2 separate regions of the Homo sapiens genome follow, and region 1 is linked to region 2. The links are contacts of gene promoters, found by promoter capture Hi-C in blood cells and fetal thymus (Javierre and others, 2016). All regions are on one chromosome and are shown on one strand. The core of a region is centred on a gene start or on the middle of the fragment in contact, and the rest is flanking DNA. Distances in the headings are between cores, read along the strand shown. Region 1 holds the start of DCHS1 (dachsous cadherin-related 1). Region 2 holds the start of LOC124902620 (a long non-coding RNA gene).

Region 1 (4,441 bases), core at 10-2,509, 960 kb before region 2:
CAAGGACCCCAGTCTCTCCCTCACTCCTCTTCCAAAATCACACTCCCTTCTTCTTCAGCTGAAACTGTGTTCCTTCTCCACAGAAGTTCCTGATTTCTTTGTGCCATTTGTACACATCTCAAGTCCAGAAAACCTGTTTTTCTCACAGTCTACTCGCAGTCCTAAGGAAGAAGGACAGGAGTCAGAACTCTTCCCAGTTCCTTTAAGATTGCTTGCTCTTTGTCTCTGTCTGATTTCCCCTCTCCCCATATTCTCTCCCAAGTTGGTTTTTTGAGCCCCTTCCCACTTCCCTGCCCGGTTTCCTCCTCACTTAATTTTTCTAGGGAGTATATCGTGAGTGGGACCACCATCCCCAAAGCTCTTCTTTCCAATATCTCCCGATCTCTACCCTCAAATTTGGGATAAAGAGAAAGTGGGGGAAAGGGAGCCTGGGGGTGAAGGAGAGAAAAGAGACAGAAATCATGGGATAATGAAAAGTGACTAACAGGGGAGAAGGCCGAGGTTACGATGGAAGAAGGGGAAGAGACAGCGGGTAGTGAAAAGGGCAGGGGTGAGAAAAGGGAATGAGGAGAAGGCGTGAGGAAAAGGGGATGATGAGGTGAGGCGAAAGACACAGGGAGAAGGGGATGGGGAGAAAGGTGGGGAGAAGAGACGGGGAGAAAGGGATAGGAAGAAAAGGATAAAAGGAGAGGTGGGGAAGGAGAATCTGATGTAAAGAGGCTGGAGAGAGATCAAGCAGAAGGGGTAAGGAGAAGAGAAAGGGGAGAAGAGCTGGGGAGAAAATGATGGAGATGGGGCGAGAAGAAGAGGATGGGAGAAAGGCAGAGGGGAATGGAGATGACGGTTGGGAAAAAGAAGGGGCGAGAGGGAGACCAGGGCACTGAGGGAGAAGAGGGGAATAGGGGATGGAAAGAAGATGGAAGAGGAGGAGGTGAGCAGCAGGGAGCGGCGAGAAGGGGAAGAGACGAGAGGGCGTAGAGAACCGAATGGGAGGAGAGGACGGGAGAAGTGACGGGGAGAAGGGAAGGGAACCGGGACGGGGGCGCGGCGCGGCGCTGGGGCCGGATCCGGAGCCGGGGCCTGGGGCCGGGAAGTGGAGGGGCGGAGGGAGGCCGGGCGGGCGCCGGGGGGAAGGGGGGGCGGCGGCGCGGAGCGCGGGTGGGGGCGGGGGCGGGGGCTCCGCGGGCGGAGGGGCGGGGGCTCGGGTTACCGCGCGGAGGGCGGGGGGAGGGGAGGGGAGGGGGCGCGGGGCCGCGGCAGCGGAGCTCGCATCCTCGGCGGGGCGGCTGTGCAGGAGGCGGCGCCCGGGCGTCAGCGGACGGACCGATCGACGGCCAAGGGCGCGCGGACCGACGGCGGCTGCCCGGAGGGGATCGCGGGCCTCGGAGACAGCGACTGCGGACGATGCGCGGCCTCAGGCCCCGCGCGAGCGGGCGCTGCCCGGGGGGCTGACCGCGGCCGGACGGCGCCCCAGCACCGGGCGAGGGAGCCCGCGTCGCGCGGAGGTCAGTGCCCGCGCCCGCCCGGCCCGTCTGGCCGCGCCCGCCCTGCCCGCCGGCCTCCCCTGGGCTGCGGCAGCGGCGGCGGAGCCGGGGGCTTTGTTCTGAGCCGGAGACAATGGGGGAGGGGGGGCCTGGGCCTGCGGGACCCGGGCGGGCGTGAACGTGAGCGTGGGGGCAGGGCCTGGGGGTCTTTGTGTGCGTGTGTCATCGAGTCGGGGAGGGTGGCGGCGGGAGCGTGCGCCGGGGGTGTGGGGTGCGACAGCGTTGTGTTCCAGTGCATCGTCGGAGTGTGTCAGTGCGTGTCACTGGGAGGTTGTGTGTCCCTGGGCGTCTCTCTGGCTGTGTGTGCATGTGCGTGTCACTCTGAGGGTGTGAGGGTCAGAATGACCGTGTGTCATGGTGAGCGAGTCCCTGTGAGGGTGTGTTGCCCGCTCTGTGGGAGCCCATGTGTCAGAATGTGGAGGATGGGTGTGTGACAGAGACCAACTGAGACAGAGACAAAGAAACTGAGTGGGGAGAAGTACAGAGAAGCAGAGGAGAGGCAGGCACAGCCTGAAGTGGATGGAGGGGGGGGTCACCCAGACGTGTTCTGAGTGGGAGATTGGAGCAACTGGGAGTTTGTGTCTGGGATACCCAGCTCAGAATCCCGTGCAGGGGACAGAGCAAGGTCACCGCAGGCGTGGGTCCCACGTGGAGGGGGTGGGGAGAGGGAGGTCTAGAAGCACAATGAACTCAGTGTGGCGGGCTGGGCCCACAGCCACAAGGTCATAGGCCAGAAAAATATTGTCGCTTATGTCAACTTCTCAAATACCCATAGGGACACAGTCATAGCCCTACTCAACCCACAAGAGGACACAGTCCCAGGGAACACACATCCTCAAGAGATACCCTCACAGCCATCATACACTTCCAGGAAGCCCACCCCCAGGAAGCACCCCCAGTCAGAACCAACACACACCTACAGCAGACTCTATCAAGCCAACACACACCTACGGAAAATGCTCTCATGACAACACACACCCACAGGAGAAATGCTGCAACCAACATACTCCCACCGGTTCATTGTCAAGGCCAACACATACCATGGAAGACATTGTTACTGCTAACACTCTCCAGAAACACTGTCACCAGCAACAAACAAGTAGACCAGCACCTCTCAGGAGACATTGTCACTGCAATCCACATCCATCAGAAGCACTGTCACAACTGTCACAGCACATCTTATTAGGTTTACTTCCTTGGAGCTGCCCATACATAGTGGGTGTCCTAGAAGCCTGTCACTAACAGGAGGCTGTGCCACAGTTGCCCTTACCACACAGCCACTTGTACAACCCCCAGGAGACAGTCATGGATGGCATGCACACCACAGGAAGACCTGTCCCAACTTCTGAATAAACTCTGCTTAACTTATCAAGCTCACACCTTCACCCCTTCTCATACGTAGATCTCCCAGGTATACCCTCTTGTTCCCTGAAAACTTCGAGATCTGGATAGTGTATCCTGCCATGGTTTCTCAGTGTCCTTCAACACCACAGCTTCACAGATTCTTGACCTCCTTAGCTCCTGTTACCTTCCTCCCTCCCAGGACCACTCTGTAGAACTATTCCACCTTTAAAATTCTAAACTCTTGCATTCCTCTCTCTACCCACAACCTCCTATATCCTTCCAGCTTTCAGATGTTCTCGCTCCCATTACACTCTTTGACCTCATAATGACCTCTTGCCCTTGACCTCTTTGTTTTCTCCTACTCTGTTCCTTTCTGACTTTGTGCTTTCTTTCCAGCTCATATGCTAAGGATCATCCCTTCAACCACTCCTTGGCCACTGTGTTTCCTTGTCTTCTATACTCATCCCTCAAATTATTGCCCCTAACTAGAATGATTTCTCAACCACACCAGGGGACGCTTCTATAAATTCATACTTCTAAAAAATTCAAACCTCAACTGGGCCCTTCATAAATAAATAGATGATTTTTTTTCTATTTTCTTCACACTCATTACCCCACATCCCTCACACCATTGTTTTCAGTAGATTAATTAATCAAAACGCTAATTCATTCATTTAACAAACACATACTAGGCACCTACTCTGCTAGGCATTGTGATGAGAGTTGGCAGCACAAGTGTGAACAAAATGGACATGGTCCTTATCCTCATGGAGCTTACAGGCTGTGGAGTGAGTGTTGTAACACAGCAGCACACAGCAGAGTAACCTAGGCCAGTGTAGGGAGGTCAGAAGAGTCTTTCTGGAGGAAGTGGCATTTAAACTTAAACTTGATGGAGTGGGTGGAGAATATGCCAAGCCAAGGGAGCAGCATGTAAAAGCCCACATGAAGGAAAATAGTGTGTGTGTGAGGGATAAAGCAGTTCAGTGAGCCTGACACTTACAGCATGAGGTGACGAGAGAGGGAGAGTCTGTGGGAGAGGTAAATGGAGGCTTAGACCATGCAGGGTCTAGGAGGCCACAGAAAGAAATTCATTTAACCCAAGAATAATGGAGAGTCACCAAATCATTGGAAGCTTGGAGCGATATGATCAGATTCATTTTAGAAATACCACTCTGACAGCCATGTGGAGACTGGAGAAAGAGCCTGAGAAGAAGGACAGTTGGCTGTTGCAGAAACTCTGGAGGGTATAACACTGGCCTGAACTGGAGTAGTGGCCGGAGAGAAGGAGAAAGTGGATGGTTTCAAGAGCTCTTTAGGCAGTGGGATCAGCAGGGCTCAGTGACAAAGCAGACATGGTGGGGTGAAGGAAAGGAAGGAATTAAGAGTGGACAACCTGGTCTTCTGGCTCACTGAGGAAATTGAGGCCATCTGTTTTGAATTCCCTCAGATTTCTGCCTCCTCCCTCAAATTTTATCTGCATCCTCTTCAATCTTTTCTCCTTCCTTCCTATAAGAACGAAGTGCTGTCTCTTCTACTTAAGGCCAATCCTCTAC
Region 2 (4,354 bases), core at 1,133-3,632:
ATATGGCAAGGATGGTGATAGGAACCTAAAGATGTATATATTTTGGGAAGAGGAAAAGAGGCTAAAATAGTTATAGGATCACACACATGATATAGACTCAATATACATTTCAAAGAAACATCTGTTGGTCATGGGAGAAAAGTCTCAATCCATAAAGGAGGCCAAGTACATTGAGAATATGTAGCAGAGAGATAAAGTCTGTCCTGTTTCTCCCCAAATGATGTTGAAATCCTAATGTGTGAATGTGCTCTTATTTGAAACTAGTATATTTAAATACTATTTAGTTACCATGTGCTCATTAGGGTAGACCCTTATCCAACATGACTGTGTCCTTATCAAAAAGGGACATTTATACACAAGGAATATGCCAGGGTGAAGAAGAAAGCAGAGATCAGGGTGATGCACCTATAAGCCAAGGAATGCTAAAGGTTTCCAGGAAACTATTAGAAGCTAGAAGAGAGGCATGGACCAGAGGCCTCCTTCATAGCCTTCAGAAGGAACCAGCCCTGTCAACACATTTTATCTTGGATAACTAGCCTCCAGAATTGTAAGGCAATATATTTCTGCTATTTAAGCCAACCACTTTTGGTACTTTTTCTATGACAGCTCTAGAAAACTAATACAAGTGCTTATTTTTCTTGATTTATTCATTCTTTTTTTTTTTTTTTTTTTTTTGAGACGGAGTCTCACTCTGTCACCCAGGCTGGAGTGCAGTGGTGCGATCTCGGCTCCTTGCCAGCTCCGCCTCTCGGGTTCACGCCATTCTCCTGCCTCAGCCTCCAAGTAGCTGGGACTACAGGCGCCCGCCACCACACCCGGGTGATTTTTTGGTGTCTTTTTAGTAGAGACGGGGTTTCACTGTGTTAGCCAGGATGGTCTCGATCTCCGGACCTCATGATCTGCCCGCCTCGGCCTCCCAAAGTGCTGGGATTACTGGCGTGAGCCACCGCGCCCGGCCTATTCATTCTTTATTCTAACATTGAAGAAATGTAGCCCCATTGAAACCCTTCCGACCTAAGACAGGTAGACAGACAGACACATAAACAAAATGCATGCTCCCCTTTGAAGGTGGTGCGAATGTAGAAGTTTCTATGACACGGTGAAGGCTAACTAGGTCCGTAGCTTCCTTGTTTCAGAATACTCTGATTACCTGCACAGAAGCTTTCTTTATCTGTGCAATTTAAATCAAAAAAAAAAAAAAAAAAAAGATGGCCAGGCGCTGTGGCTCAAGCCTGTAATCCCAGCAGTTTGGGGGGCCGAGGCGGGCAGATTACCTGAGGTCAGGAGTTTGAGGCCAGCCTGGCCACTATGGTGAGACCCCGTATCTACTAAAAAATATATATATATACAAACATTAGCCAGGTGTGACAGCAGTTGCTTGTAGTCCCCGCTACTCTGGAGGCTGAGGCAGGAGAATCACTTGAACCCAGGAGGCGGAGGTTGCAGTGAGCTGAGATCACACCACTGCACTCCAGCCTGGCAACAGAGCAAGACTCCGTCAAAAGAAAAAAAAAAAAAAAGATTAAATTAAATTAGTGTGGCTACACAATAAGGAGAAAAATTATAAGGGGTTTAGCCATCAATATCTTTTTTTTTTTTTTTTGAGACAAGGTCTCACTGCGTTGCCCAGGCTGGTCTCAAACTCCTCAACTCAAGCAGTCCTCCAGTCTTGGCTTCCCAAAGTGCTGGGATTTTTGGCTAGGCTTTGGCACAAGCCACCAGGTGCCTGGCCTAGCCAACATCTTTTAAATTTCCCCTGTTCCTTGGGTCAGGAACTACCAATGGAGAAAATAGGTCCTGTTCTTGGCATGCAGAAACCTGGAGAACTCAGAAACACCGTTACCACTTCTTATTTGTCTAAACTCAGAGTTCCTTTTTCAATGACCCACTAAAATGTCCAGGGTTTAGTTTTCCCCAAGTAATGACCCTTTTTCCAAGAGTTCTAACTCTCTGGTCAATATGTTTCAGATAAGTCATTTTGTAACAGAGGACAGATTTCATAAAGCTACCCCAGTGTCATCTCTTTCTCTCACAGTTAGTTCATCAGTTCTTAAATCCATCATTTTATTGAAGACTGCTCAAAATCATTGTCTCACAGTGAGACCTAATGTGAAATCTATTTAAAGTTGCAAAGCCCTTGACAAGAGCACTACAGATACCACATCCTATTGCAGCCCTTTTAGTTTGTTGCTTTTGTTTTATTGGTTTTACATTTATCCTCTAGTAACTGCTACCTTTTTGCTACATTAAAACTGCTGGTTTACTTCCTTTTTTTGACTGCGTGTTTACTTCCTTTTCCCTAGTCCAGAGCATAATCTCTTACCGGTATTTAATGTTGATTATATATCGAATAGATAGTTTTTTTGTTTTTGTTTTTGTTTTTTTACTATACCTGTATGCTTTTGTTTTGTGAATTTAGTCAAAAATATTTTTCAAAAATTAAAAGTACAGTTTTATTTATTGGGTCCTGTACTAGACTTGACAATGAATAAATACTAGATATGGACCTTGACAAGATGTGCGGTACAGACACATAAGGAGACAGTTACCTGGACCTCTGAAAAGTGAAACAAAGAAAAGGACACATCAGAATATGGGTGACATAGGCATCAAGGTACAAAATGCTCAGCGATAAGATCGAGATAAGACTCAGGAGAAATTACCAACTCCTTGCCTTAGCTCTGTGCAAGGGAAAATTGAGTAGGGAGTTGAGGTAACTCATGATGAAAAGGTGTACCTAGAATAATAGCAACTTCTAAAACAGGAGTGGATACCAGAGGTTCATTGGGTGCTACAGAAGTTGAGGGAGGAGACCACCTCTCATATTGTCTTATGCCCAATTTCTGCCTCCAAAGAAAGAAAAAGTAAAAACTAAAAGGCAGAAATGAAATCCACAAGCAGACAGCCCGGGGCCACACCCTGGACCTGGTAGTTAAAGATGGACCCCTGACCTAATTGGTTTGTTATCTATAGATTCCAGACATTGTATAGAAAAGCACTGTGAAAATCCCTACTCTGTTTTGTTCCGATCTAATTACCGGTGTATGCAGCCCCCAGTCACGTACCCCCTGCTTGCTCAATCGATCACGACCCTCTCACGCGGACCCCCTTAGAGTTGTGAGCCCTTAAAAGGGACAGGAATTGCTCACTCGAGGAGCTCGGCTCTTGAGACAGGAGTCTTGCCTATGCCCCTGGCCGAATAAACCCCTTCCTTCTTTACCTCGGTGTCTGAGGAGTTTTTTCTGTGGCTGGTCCTGCTACAAAGGAAGAGTAAGCTGTGGGTACTCAGAAGAACAAGTTCCCTGTGACTGGACCTTCAGAGACAAGAGACCAAAGTGGAGCTGCAGAGATGAGCAGCAGTCTGCCCGTCCTGCGGCCTCTCTCCTCGGACTAACCAGAGGGCTGCTAATTTATCAGGAAAGCTATGGACAGCATCCAAAAAGTTACCAGAAGGCAAGTAAAAGGATAACCTTCAAAAGGGCCTTACTTCTGAAGACTGAGTACCTAAGACTCCTTCGCCTCATACCCAGATCCAGATAAGGGCTCTCATCCCTGCTGAACCTCATCATGAGGTTGCTTTATGAAAAGTGAAAACAAAGCTTCATTGCACAGGCTTCTTCGGGAGAAAGGAGGAAGGAATTTGCTGCCTCTGAATAAAAGAAAATTCTGATCCACGTTGGCAAAATGGAAAAATCAAAATGACAGAATAGGAATGTGGGGTATGATAAGGTTTCTCTTCAAATAGCCTGATCAATCCTTTATTCTTTAATTCACAGTGCCCCTCCCCACTTCACTTTTCTTCTCTTCTCTTTCCTTTCTGCTTTTGCTACATGCCTAGACATGTCACAGTACCAGGCGTTATCAGTACCAACTCACATTCCTTTCCTTATTTTGGAAGAAGATTAGTTATCTAGCTCATCACACACACCCCTTCCCCATCTCCCCTCTCTCCCTCACGTGCCCACCTTATCTAAAGAAAGTTAAAATGTTTAGCCAACTGAGTCTAGTTTAGATTGTGTGGCCGACTCCAGCCAATGGGGAAAGGGCAAAGGGGTAGGATTTGCGTCAGGAATAAAAACTTTCTTCCTCCTTTGTTCTAGTGTGCTCTCATGGCGACTGGCAAAGAAGAAGCACCCCTCTGCACAGAAATAAAATTGCTTTGCTGAGAAATCCTTTGTTTGAGTGCTCGTCTCCCTTAAGATTCTGAGCTTTATTTCCAACAAGGAAGGTGATGGAGGTACCTAGATTGAAGAAATGAATGGTCCCTCTAGGAAACAAGCAAGGCTTTTTGCTTTTGCAAACCTCTCTTCTTTAAAGGTTACCCCTCTCCCAGACTCAGTGCTTTCTTCCTCTG

What was found. Contacts are between HindIII fragments. The CHiCAGO score rates a contact against its expected background, and 5 or more counts as called.
Region 1: the fragment with the promoter of DCHS1 here is called in contact with a fragment that was not itself captured in region 2 in 1 of 17 cell types (activated CD4 T cells); the score reaches 5.3 in activated CD4 T cells.

The regions. Positions count from the first base shown.
Region 1 is chr11:6,652,627-6,657,067 of GRCh38, reverse strand. DCHS1 (dachsous cadherin-related 1) reads left to right here and starts at 1,259. Exons shown (of 21, transcript NM_003737.4): 1 at 1,259-1,505. The HindIII fragment of the contact is 4,247 bases long and covers 1-4,022 here.
Region 2 is chr11:5,690,043-5,694,396 of GRCh38, reverse strand. The region is part of intron 1 of TRIM22 (tripartite motif containing 22); the gene reads right to left. LOC124902620 (a long non-coding RNA gene) reads left to right here and starts at 1,643. Exons shown (of 2, transcript XR_007062561.1): 1 at 1,643-3,719; 2 at 4,101-4,170. RefSeq lists enhancers at 3,788-3,887, 3,303-4,354, 3,935-4,354. The HindIII fragment of the contact is 2,438 bases long and covers 1,164-3,601 here.